Regions from separate parts of the Homo sapiens genome. Here region 1 is linked to region 2. Evidence: promoter capture Hi-C in 16 types of primary human blood cells and fetal thymus (Javierre and others, 2016). All regions are on one chromosome and are shown on one strand. The core of a region is centred on a gene start or on the middle of the fragment in contact, and the rest is flanking DNA. Distances in the headings are between cores, read along the strand shown. Region 1 overlaps LSM12 (LSM12 homolog). Region 2 holds the start of PPY (pancreatic polypeptide).

What was found. The method cuts DNA at HindIII sites, captures the fragments that hold promoters and counts their contacts. A CHiCAGO score of 5 or more calls a contact.
Region 1: a fragment that was not itself captured here is called in contact with the fragment with the promoter of PPY in region 2 in 4 of 17 cell types (naive B cells, naive CD8 T cells, naive CD4 T cells and 1 more); the score reaches 6.1 in naive B cells.

What each region holds. Positions count from the first base shown.
Region 1 is chr17:44,043,673-44,049,043 of GRCh38, reverse strand. All of the region lies in intron 2 of LSM12 (LSM12 homolog), which reads left to right. Among named protein-coding and RNA genes, the nearest start is that of LSM12, 20 kb to the left of the region's middle. The HindIII fragment of the contact is 3,208 bases long and covers 1,817-5,024 here.
Region 2 is chr17:43,940,684-43,945,779 of GRCh38, reverse strand. It overlaps PPY (pancreatic polypeptide), which reads left to right and starts at 3,304. Exons shown (of 4, transcript NM_002722.5): 1 at 3,304-3,359; 2 at 4,126-4,316; 3 at 4,566-4,637; 4 at 4,828-4,976. The coding sequence starts at 4,126. The coding sequence ends at 4,852. The HindIII fragment of the contact is 11,028 bases long and covers 1-4,932 here.

The sequences.
Region 1 (5,371 bases), core at 2,171-4,670, 100 kb before region 2:
CTAATTTTTGTATTTTCAGTAGAGACAGGGTTTCACAATGTTGGCCAGGCTAGTCTGAACTCCTGGCCTCAAGTGATCTTCCTGCCTTGGCCTCCCAAAGTGCTGGGATTATAGGAATGAGCCACTGTGCCTGGCCTAGAAGCCTTTTAATATTGATGTGCTTTGATATCGAATGCATATACTTTTCTCCTTTGCCCACATCAAGGTGCTATATATAAAACGGGCACAGGAGGAAACACTGGTTAGTATACAAGGACTGTGTTTTCACTGGGAATCATGCAGAATGAAAGGAGAGCCAGGTAAGCACAGATTGTCATGTGCAGTGATTTCAAGTAAGCCATATGCACATTAATAACAAATATTTGTAAGTTTATGCTTCTTGGTTTGCCTGAACCCAGTGTGTTCTTAAACTTGGTGCTTTTTATTCTTTGAGATGCTAACCAGTTAGTGCTTCTAACTGATTGGTAGTGAGGCCAGCAGCTAGCATGTTTGCATTGAAAATGGGTGTAGTATGGGTGATAGTCATTGAATTTTTATGGTTACTTTTTTTTTTTTTTTTTTTGAGATGGAGTCTCTCTCTGTCACCCAGGCTAGAGTGCAGTGGTGCAAGCTCGGCTAACTGAAACCTCCGCCTCCCGGGTTCAAGCAATTCCTCTGCCTCAGCCTCCCAAGTAGATGGGACTACAGGTGCATGTTACTGTGCCCGGCTAATTTTTGTAATTTTTGTAGAGATGGGGTTTCGCTATGTTGACCAGGCTGGTTTCGAACTCCTGGGCTCAAGTGATCTGCCTGCCTTGGCCTCCCAAAGTGCTGGGATTACAAGCATGAGCCACTGCTCTTGGCCTGGAAAAAATTTTTCTATGTTTTGCTGCATAAAGAAAATGAAAAGACAAGCCATAGACTGGGAGAAATAATTTGCAAAACATACATCTTACAGAGCACTTGTGTCCAGAATGTATAAAGAACTCTTTTTATTTGCGTGTGTGTGTGTGTGTGTGTGTGTGTGTGTGTGTGTGTGTGTGTGTTTAATACGGACACTGTCTATGTTGTCCACACTGGTCTTGAACCCCTGGCTCAAGTGATCGGCCTTCCTCAGCCTCCCAAAGTGCTAGGATTACAGGTGTGAGTGACCACGCCCAGCCAAGAACTCTTAATAAGGCAGCCCGGGCTTGGTGGTTTATGCTTGTAATTCCAGCACTTTGGGAGGCTGAGGTGGGAGGATGATTTGAGATCAGGAGTTTGAGACTAGCCTAGGGAACACAGGGAGACCCCATCGCTACATAAAATTAAAAAAAAAAAAACAGAACAAACAAACCTGCCAGGCATAGTGGTCCTTGCTTGTGGTTCCAGATGCTTGGGAGGCTGAGGTGGGAGGATTGCTTTAGCCAAGGAGGTCAAGGCTGCAGTGAGCCATGATTATGCCAGTACACTCCAGCCTGGGCAACAGAGCAAGACCTATCTCAAAAAAGAAAATAATAATGATAATAAGACAATCCAGGCTGGGCATGGTGGCTCATGCCTGTAATCCCAGCACTTTGGGAGGCCGAGGCAGGTGAATCACCTGAGGTCAGGAGTTTGAGACCAGCCTGGCCAACGTGGTGAAACCCTGTCTTTACTAAAAATACAAAAATTAGCTGGGCGTGGTGGTGTGGGCCTGTAGTCCTAGCTACTCTGGAGGCTGAGGCAGGAGAATTGCTTGAACCTGGGAGGCAGAGGTTGTGGTGAGCTGAGATGGTGCCACTGCACTCCAGTCTGGGTGACAGAGCAAGACTCCATCTCAAAAAAAAGACAGTCCAATTAAAAATGGGCAAAAGCTTTGAATACTGTATCAGAGAAGATACAGTAATTACAAATAAGCACATAAGATGCTTGATATCATTAGACATAAAGGGAAGTACAAGTGAAAACCACAGTGTGAAACTGCTATACTTCTGCTAAAATGGCTGAGATCAGAAAGGCTAACAGTACCCAGTGTTGGTGAGTAGGTGGCAGATTTAGAACTATCAAACATTAGGGCCGGGCGCTGTGGCTTACGCCTGTAATCCCAGCACTTTGGGAGGTCGAGGCGGGTGGATCACGAGGTCAGGAGTTCGAGACCAGCCTGGCCAACATAGTGAAACCCCATCTCTACTAAAAATACAAAAAATTAGCCAGGCGTGGTGGCGGGCGCCTGTAATCCCAGCTACTCGGGAGACTGAGGCAGGAGAATCACTTGAACCCCAGAGGCGGAGGTTGCAGTGAGCCAAGATCGCGCCATTGCACTCCAGCAAAAAAAAAAAAAAAAGAAAAAAAAAAAGAAAACAGTTTGACAGTTCCTTTTTTTTTTTTTTTTTTGAGACGGAGTCTGGCTCTGTTGCCCAGGCTGGAGTGCAGTGGCGCATTAATCTCAGCTCACTGCAAGCTCCGCCTCCTGAGTTCACGCCTTTCTCCTGCCTCAGCCTCCCGAGTAGCTAGGACTACAGGCGCCCGCCACCATCCCCGGCTGATTTTTTGCATTTTTAGTAGAGACGGGGTTTCACCGTGTTAGCCAGGATGGTCTCGATCTCCTGACCCCGTGATCCATCCGCCTCGGCCTCCCAAAGTGCTGGGATTGCAGGCGTGAGCCACTGCACCCGGCCATTTTGTTTTGTTTTTAAGGAAACTTCACTAGCAGGAAAACAATTACTTTAAAAATTAAACATACACTTACCATATGACCCAGAAATTCTACTCTTAGTTATCTACCTAACAAAAGTAAAAACATGTCCACACACAGAGACTTTTTACTTTTAAAAAGCAAAATCTTTTTACTTTTAAAAAGTAAAACGTTGGCTGGGCATGGTGACTCACACCTGTAATCCCAGCACTTTGGGAGGCCGAGGCGGGCGGATCATGAGGTCAGGAGATCAAGACCATCCTGGCTAACAGGGTGAAACCCTGTCTCTACTAAAAATACAAAAATTATCCGGGCGTGGTGGCGGGCGCCTGTAGTCCCAGCTACTCGGGAGGCTGAGGCAGGAGAATGGCGTGAACCCAGGAGGCGGAGCTTGCAGTGAGCCAAGATCGCGCCACTGCACTCCAACCTGGGAGACAGAGCGAGACTCCGTCTCAAAAAAAAAAAAAAAAAAGTAAAATATTTTTACTTTTACATACACAAAGACTTGTGTGTGACTGCTGCCAAAAACTGGAAACAGCCGGGTAGGGTGGCTCATGCCTGTAATCCCAGCACCTTAGGAGGCCAAGGTGGGTGGATCGTTTGAGCTCAGGAGTTCAAGACTATCCTGGGCAATACGGTGAAACCCTGTCTCTACAAAAAAATACAACACCTTAGCTGGGCGTGGTGGTGTGCTTCTGTGGTCCCAGCTACTTGGGAAGCTGAAGTGGGAGGATTGCTTGAGCCCAGTGGGTGGAGGTTGCAGTGGGCTGAGATTGTGCCATTACATTCCAGCCTGGGTGATAGAGTGAGACTCTGTTTCAGAAAACACAAAAAACAAAACTGGAAACAATTCAGATTTTGATCAACTGTCCATCAACTAGTGAATGAATATATAAAAGGTAGAACTGTATCCTCATAGTGGAATGCTTCCTAGCAATTTAAAAAACTATTGGTACATGAAACAAAATGGATGAACCTCAGAAATGTGCTAAGTGGAAGAAGCCAGAGACGTAAGTCAACACATTGTATCATTCCATTTATATGAAATATCTAGTAAAGGAAAAACTATAGAAATAGATTTAAGGCCAGGCATGGTGGCTTACGCTTGTAATCCCAGCACTTTGGGAGGCTGAGGCGGGCAGATCACGAGGTCAGGAGTTCGAGACCAGCCTGACCAACATGGTGAACCCCTGTCTCTACTAAAAATACAAAAATTAGCCAGGCGTGGTGGTGGGCACCTGTAATCCCAGCTACTTGGGAGGCTGAGGCAGGAGAATCCCTTGAACCTGGGAGGCGGAGGTTGCAGTGAGCTGAGATCGCACCACTGCACTCCAGCCTGGGCGACAGAGCAAGACTTTGTCTCAAAAAAAAAGAAATAGATTTTAAAAAGTAATCTTGGTGGCCCTCCCAAGCCTAAAAGGCACATTCTACACTTTCTCTACTGAGGGCAGCTTTTATTGGTTCTCTCCAGTGGTTTGGCAAAAACCATAAACTTACTAACTTGGAATAATTGGGCCATTTATAGGTATATAGTCATTTGCAAAAATATGTGGGAAAATTTAGATTTGTACAGCAGCTAAATTGAGGGTAGAGTGATAATCGTTTGCTTTACAAAAGAAGGCATATTCATGTTCTGCATGAGTTTTCATGACAAAAAAGGGCAAGGTAATCTCCTTCTCCCCACCCTCAATTTTGAAAAAAGGAAACACTTCTAGTTTCTTTTATTGAGAGCGGTCTCCCCCATTGATGGGGACCCCTAATTGATGGGGTCCTCTCTAGGAGATTTTATCCCATTTGTACAGCTTCCTGGTAAAAGCAGATCTGTGTAGCTGAGTCCGGATCCCTAAAGCATTACTGTAGGTTGAGTATATTGGGGGCAAACTGAAAATATATACAGTCAGCTTACAGTCATTTCTGCTGACTTTTCTAAGTGCTCCCTTACATCATTTAGCATTTGGGATGTTTGCATTAGAATTGAAATAGAGAATTGTCTAGTCCATTCTCCTTTGCTTTTGGAGACTTTAGGGGAGATTGCACTTGCACAACTGGTATTTTGGCGGGGGTGGGGGGTGTATTTTGAAATCATTGTTCTATAACCAGTGTGTCATTGTTACTCAGCCTGTCTAAAGAATCACTTCTGGCTGAGATTTATATCCATTTTATTTTCTCTCTGGCAAAAATTCAAGTGGCTCTTCTTCCAGCTTTTTTTTCTCCCCTTCTCTAGCTTAATTTGTCAGTTCCATTCTTAAACATTCTGCATAGATGCCTGGTTTCCTGAGCCAACTCTTGTCTCTTACTAAATGGGGTGATGTTATGTTTTTAAGCTGCTATGTAGGTGACAACGACATTTTACTCTTTGAACGTTCAGACTATCTAGTCAACACAAGCTTTATAGAAGCAGCTTTCTCTGACCCAGCATTCGGAGATGATTTGGATTTTCAGGAATAAACGTTTTTAAAGGGGATTGAGGTTTCAAAGTGAGATCTTCCAGCCTGCTTATAAGGTAAATGCCCGCCTGTCCACTAGATGCTTCCCAGGAGCTCTGCCACCCTCCAGTTTTTCCTTCTTTCCTTAAAGACTTCAGATTTTTTTTTTTTTTTTTAATAGAGGCAGGGTCCCACTATGTTGCCCAGGCTGGTCTGTAACTACTGGGCTCAAGTGATCTTCCTCCCTCAGCCTCCCAAAATGCTGGGATTACAGGCGTGAGCCACAGCGCTGGCCGACTTCAGATTTTCT
Region 2 (5,096 bases), core at 2,055-4,554:
GGATTTCCCAGAACTGAGGGTTCCTCCTCCTTTTAGACCATGGAGGGTAACTTCCAGATGTTGCCATGGCATTTGTAAACTGTCTGATGCTGGTGGGAGCATCTCTTAGCATGCTAATGCATTATAATTAGTGTATAATGATCAGCGAGGCCAGGCACGGTGACTCATGCCTGTAATCCCAGCACTTTGGGAAGCCGATGGGGGCAGATCATTTGAGGTCAGGAGTTTGAGACCAGCCTTGCCAACATGGTGAAACCTCATCTCTGCTGAAAAAGAAAAAAAGAAAAATCAGTGAGGGCAATCAGCGGTCATGCTCATCACCCTCTTGGTTTTTGCGTGTTCTTACCAGCTTCTTTATCTCATTCTATCAGCAGGGTCTTGTGACCCGTATCTTGTGCCGGCCTCCTATCTTGTCCTGTGACTAAAAATGTCTAACCTCCTGGGAATGCAGCCCAGCAGGTTGCAGCCTCATTTTACCCAGCCCTTGTTCAAGATGGAGTCGCTGTGGTTCAAACGCCTCTGACAGGAACACATCAAGATGAGTGAGAACCATTGCTGTGTTCTAGACATAGTGATGTAGTTAGGCTTTGCATCCCCACCAAATCTCATCTTGAATTGTAATCCCCGTAGTCCTCATGCGAAGGGAGAGACCAGGTGGAGGTCATTGAATCATGGGGGCAGTTTTCCCCATGCTGTTCTCGTGATAGTGAGTGAGTCATCACGAGAGCTGATGATTTTATAAGTTGCTCTTCTCCCCTTTGATCAGCACTTCTCCTTCCTGCCGCCTTGTGAGAAAGGTGCCTTGTTTCCCCTACGCCTTCCACCATGATTTTAAGTTTCCTGAGGCCTCCCCAGCCATGCTGAACTGTGAGTCAATTAAACCTCTTTCCTTTATAAATGACCCAATTTCAGGTAGTTCTTTTTGTTTTTTGTGTGTTTTTTGAGATGGTGTCTCACTCTGTTACAGCCCAGGCTGGAGTGTAGCGGCACGATCTCGGTTCACTGCAACCTCTGCCTCCCTGGTTCAAGTGATTCTCCTGCCTCAGCCTCCCAAGTAGCTGGGATTACAGGCATGCGCTACCACGCCCGGCTAATTTTTGTATTTTTAGTAGTGATGGGGTTTCACCATGTTGGCCAGGCTGGTCTTGAACTCCTGACCTCAGGTGATCCGCCTGCCTCAGCCTCCCAAAGTGCTGGGATTACAGGCGTGAGCCACTGCGCCTGGCCTCGGGCAGTTCTTTTCAAAGCAGTATGAGAAGGAACTAATACACATGGCCATGCAGTGTAGAAAGCACATCTACTACCACTTCCTCCTGGATTGTCACCACATCCCTGAGAGGACCCAGAAGAGGAATCTGTTGTTTGCAAAGGAGAAAAATGAAAGCTACGGTTTGGTTGACATTTGTGGAGTGCCTGTTATTTCTTAGGCACTTAGGTTTACCTCTGCGACAGGATAGAACTGTAAGTGGCCCTGGCATCTGAGTCAATCCCTAGATCCATTGTCTGTTGGGTGGGGCTGGGTCCCCACATGAGTAGCAGCCAGAACAGGTCCCTCCAAGGCCATGGTCCTGTGGGAGCTCAGATCCTTTTAACTAGGGTTGGAGCCTGGCGCCCTCTGGCGGCGAGCTGCAACCTCTACCCGCCAAACCCAAGGCCAGGCTGAGACCAGCCACCAATTCACACCCTTGTTTTGCAAGTGGAAAACCTCAGTCCAGAGAAAGGCCCGGGCTTGCTGAGACAGAATGACTTTCGTATTTGCTTTGTGGAATGTAAGTTGTCTGGTGAAGCATTATTGCTCTTCTTGTTAACCAAAATCAAAATTGAGAGGGTCAAGGCAGAACACTGATGTTTGCTGAGCCTTCCTTTATTCTCCCTATCTTCAGATGGGTGTGATGAGCCTATTTTACTGAGAGGAAAAGTGAAGCTCAGAGAGGCTAAAGAAATTACTTTCCCAGGCTCACAGAGCCAGCCAATGCAGAGCCAGGATTTGGACCCAGGTCTGTCTGACTCTAAGCCCACCCTGCCAGATCCCTGGAGTTTCACCTCCAGTCCCCTCTTCCCCAACAGTCCCCCCCATCTCCCAACTTCTTGGTATACTGATCTGGGACAGCAGAACGTCAGCAGTCATAAGTCCTTAGCTCCGTACTTGGTGTCACCGTGTCATTCAGACACAGCCAGTTACCACTCCTTGGCCTAAGCAGGGGAGGGAGACTGGGGGTTGGGAAGAGACGCTGGGCAGGGGAGACTCAGGGGCTTCTGGTGGGGATGGATTAGTGGGGTTGAGAATCTAAGCCAGAATTCGGAACCTCGGTAGCTATGAGATCTTGAGCAAGCGTCTTTACCTCTGTGAGCCTCAGGTTTCTCAGCCAAAAAGTGGGAAATTATAACAATACTTTGACGGCCCCACTTAGGAAAAAAAACAGTCCAGGTTTGGAGTTAAATTTTGGGGTCTGACTGGCTGTGGGGTTTGGGGCCAGTGATTTGACATCTCTGAGCAGATTTCAGATCCTGAATCTGTAAAATGGGTTGTTGTGGGGATTTAGTGAGGTGACTGAGCTGGCAGCACTTTGGAAAATGTGAGGCTTTACAAATGAAGCTGGTTTTTAGCACTTCCCTGGAATGGGGGCTCTGAGATGGGGAGGGAAATGGATACTGGAAACCGGCACCCCCCTCAACATTTCCCCTGAACCCAGGCACATGAGTTCTCATTCTGCATCCTATGCACCCACCAAATGGGTTTCTCCAAGCCTGGCACCCCACTCCTTTCCACCTTGCCTGAGGACCTGAGGCCCCTTCCCTCTTCCCACCTTGTTCTAGTTGCAAGCTGCAGAGGATGGCCTGAGTTTCCATTCTTCAGCCTGGAGGCTCTGGCTGTAGCCTCAGTCTTCCAGCTGCAGCCTCAATCTTCTGCCCCAAGAGAATCCGTTGGATGATTTGGGTTGATCTTTGGGAGGCAGGAGAGCTAGTTCCAAGGCCTGTGACCAAAACCTTTCAGTCACTCTCGAGTCCCAGAACCCCATCTTTCTTGAACCAAGCCTGCTCTGGTGCCCAAAGGGAAGGGGTGTCAGTGATGGGGGCCCACAGGAGACTTTTACTGTGGTCCAGTTTTATCTGTTATGCTGCTGGTCTGGCACCCACAGAACTGCCCTGTCCCCCTCCCGTCTCTGGCCTCAGTACTGGCGTTGCCAGTATGAGGAGACAGTGAGAGGAGGGGTGAGGGCTTCGGAGTGAGAGAGGCTGACAGGAGGCGGGGACTCTGGGGGGCTGAGGACTATAAAGCGGCCCAGCCGAGGGCAGGGGCCCATCCGGCCTGAGGCAGGTGCTCGCTTGGTCTAGTGCCCATTTACTCTGGACTCCGGGTAAGTGGGCTCAGCCTGCCTGGGGCTCTGGGGGCCTCCCCCAGGCTGGGGCCTGGGATGGAGAGGAGGTGGTGCTTTGCAGGGCCAGGGGCCTTGGGAGGCCTAAGGTCCTGCTTGGGTCTTGCTTTCTGCATCTGGACAGACCTGTCACGCTAGAAGAGCCGTCTGCTGACTGCACGTGTGTGTGCACACTCGTGTGCATGGCTGTGAACTGGAATGTGTGACTGTGACCTTGTGAGTGACTGGGGTCCCTGTGTGAGTGCCTTTGCTGGTCTGTGCAGGACGACATGGACAGTAGCGTCTTCTCCAGGACCGATATCTGTGTCTCTATCGCAGGGTGGAGGGCCAGACCCACAAGGCCATGGATTTCTGTCCTTGGCTTCCCGAGTTCATTCTGTGTCCCCCACCCTGTGGGTGACCTGGCATGCCCTTATTCCCACTAGCTGCTGCCTCCTGGGAGCCATGAGGCCCTGGATGTCATGAGTCCCGTGTCTCCAGGACTCACATCCCCATTTTCTCTGCTATACTTTTCTAACTTGCGAGGCCCTGGCTTGCTGGGCTGCTCACAGGACAGGCTGTCCGTGCCTTCAGAGCAGTGTCTAGGAGGTGGAGTGGCCAGCTTGGAGTGGCCCTTTGCTCTGCCCCCTTGTCCCCAGGCTTGGAGAAATGGATGATGGGCTAAGGGGCTGGATAGTTGGGCCCTGCTTCCTGGGCACGGGAAAATCTGCAGCCCGGGCTCTCCACCTCCCCTCTGCTTGCTCCTCAGATGGCTGCCGCACGCCTCTGCCTCTCCCTGCTGCTCCTGTCCACCTGCGTGGCTCTGTTACTACAGCCACTGCTGGGTGCCCAGGGAGCCCCACTGGAGCCAGTGTACCCAGGGGACAATGCCACACCAGAGCAGATGGCCCAGTATGCAGCTGATCTCCGTAGATACATCAACATGCTGACCAGGCCTAGGTGTGTGCCACAGTTGGGGAGAGAGATCCCAGCCCCTGGGACCCTGGGCCCACTCCACATTCCTGGCCACACCCTATCCCCAGCCCCAGCCCCAGCCCCTTCCAGGCCTGCTCTTGGGAAAACAGGGCATCTGTGCTCAACAGGCCTAGACCAATGTGCCCTGGGCAAGATGGTGCCTACAGGCAGATATGAAACAGGTGGGCTGGCACCTGGGCACAGTGCTTGCCCCTGCTGCCTCTTCCCTCCCAGGTATGGGAAAAGACACAAAGAGGACACGCTGGCCTTCTCGGAGTGGGGGTCCCCGCATGCTGCTGTCCCCAGGTGAGTTTGACTCCCTGCCCTGTCTGTCCAGCTCCCTGGAGCTGAAATGGGGGTGGTGGGACTGAATCAGGGCTTGGAAAGGTGTAGTGGGGGGTGGAAGAGGGAGAACAGGAGCCCAGGGCCAGCCTGAGGCCTCCTGAGGGCACGAGGCCTACCCCCTACACTGCCATGTTCTGCCCTGTCCTCACAGGGAGCTCAGCCCGCTGGACTTATAATGCCACCTTCTGTCTCCTACGACTCCATGAGCAGCGCCAGCCCAGCTCTCCCCTCTGCACCCTTGGCTCTGGCCAAAGCTTGCTCCCTGCTCCCACACAGGCTCAATAAAGCAAGTCAAAGCCACAGCCTGTCCTGTGTCTCTGTGGACCCCTGGTGGGGGCAGCAGGAAGTGCCAAATGCATGGGAGAGAAAGGGGAGGGCAGGGCAGGGCAGAGGAAAAGGGGATCATCCAGAACGTTGGCG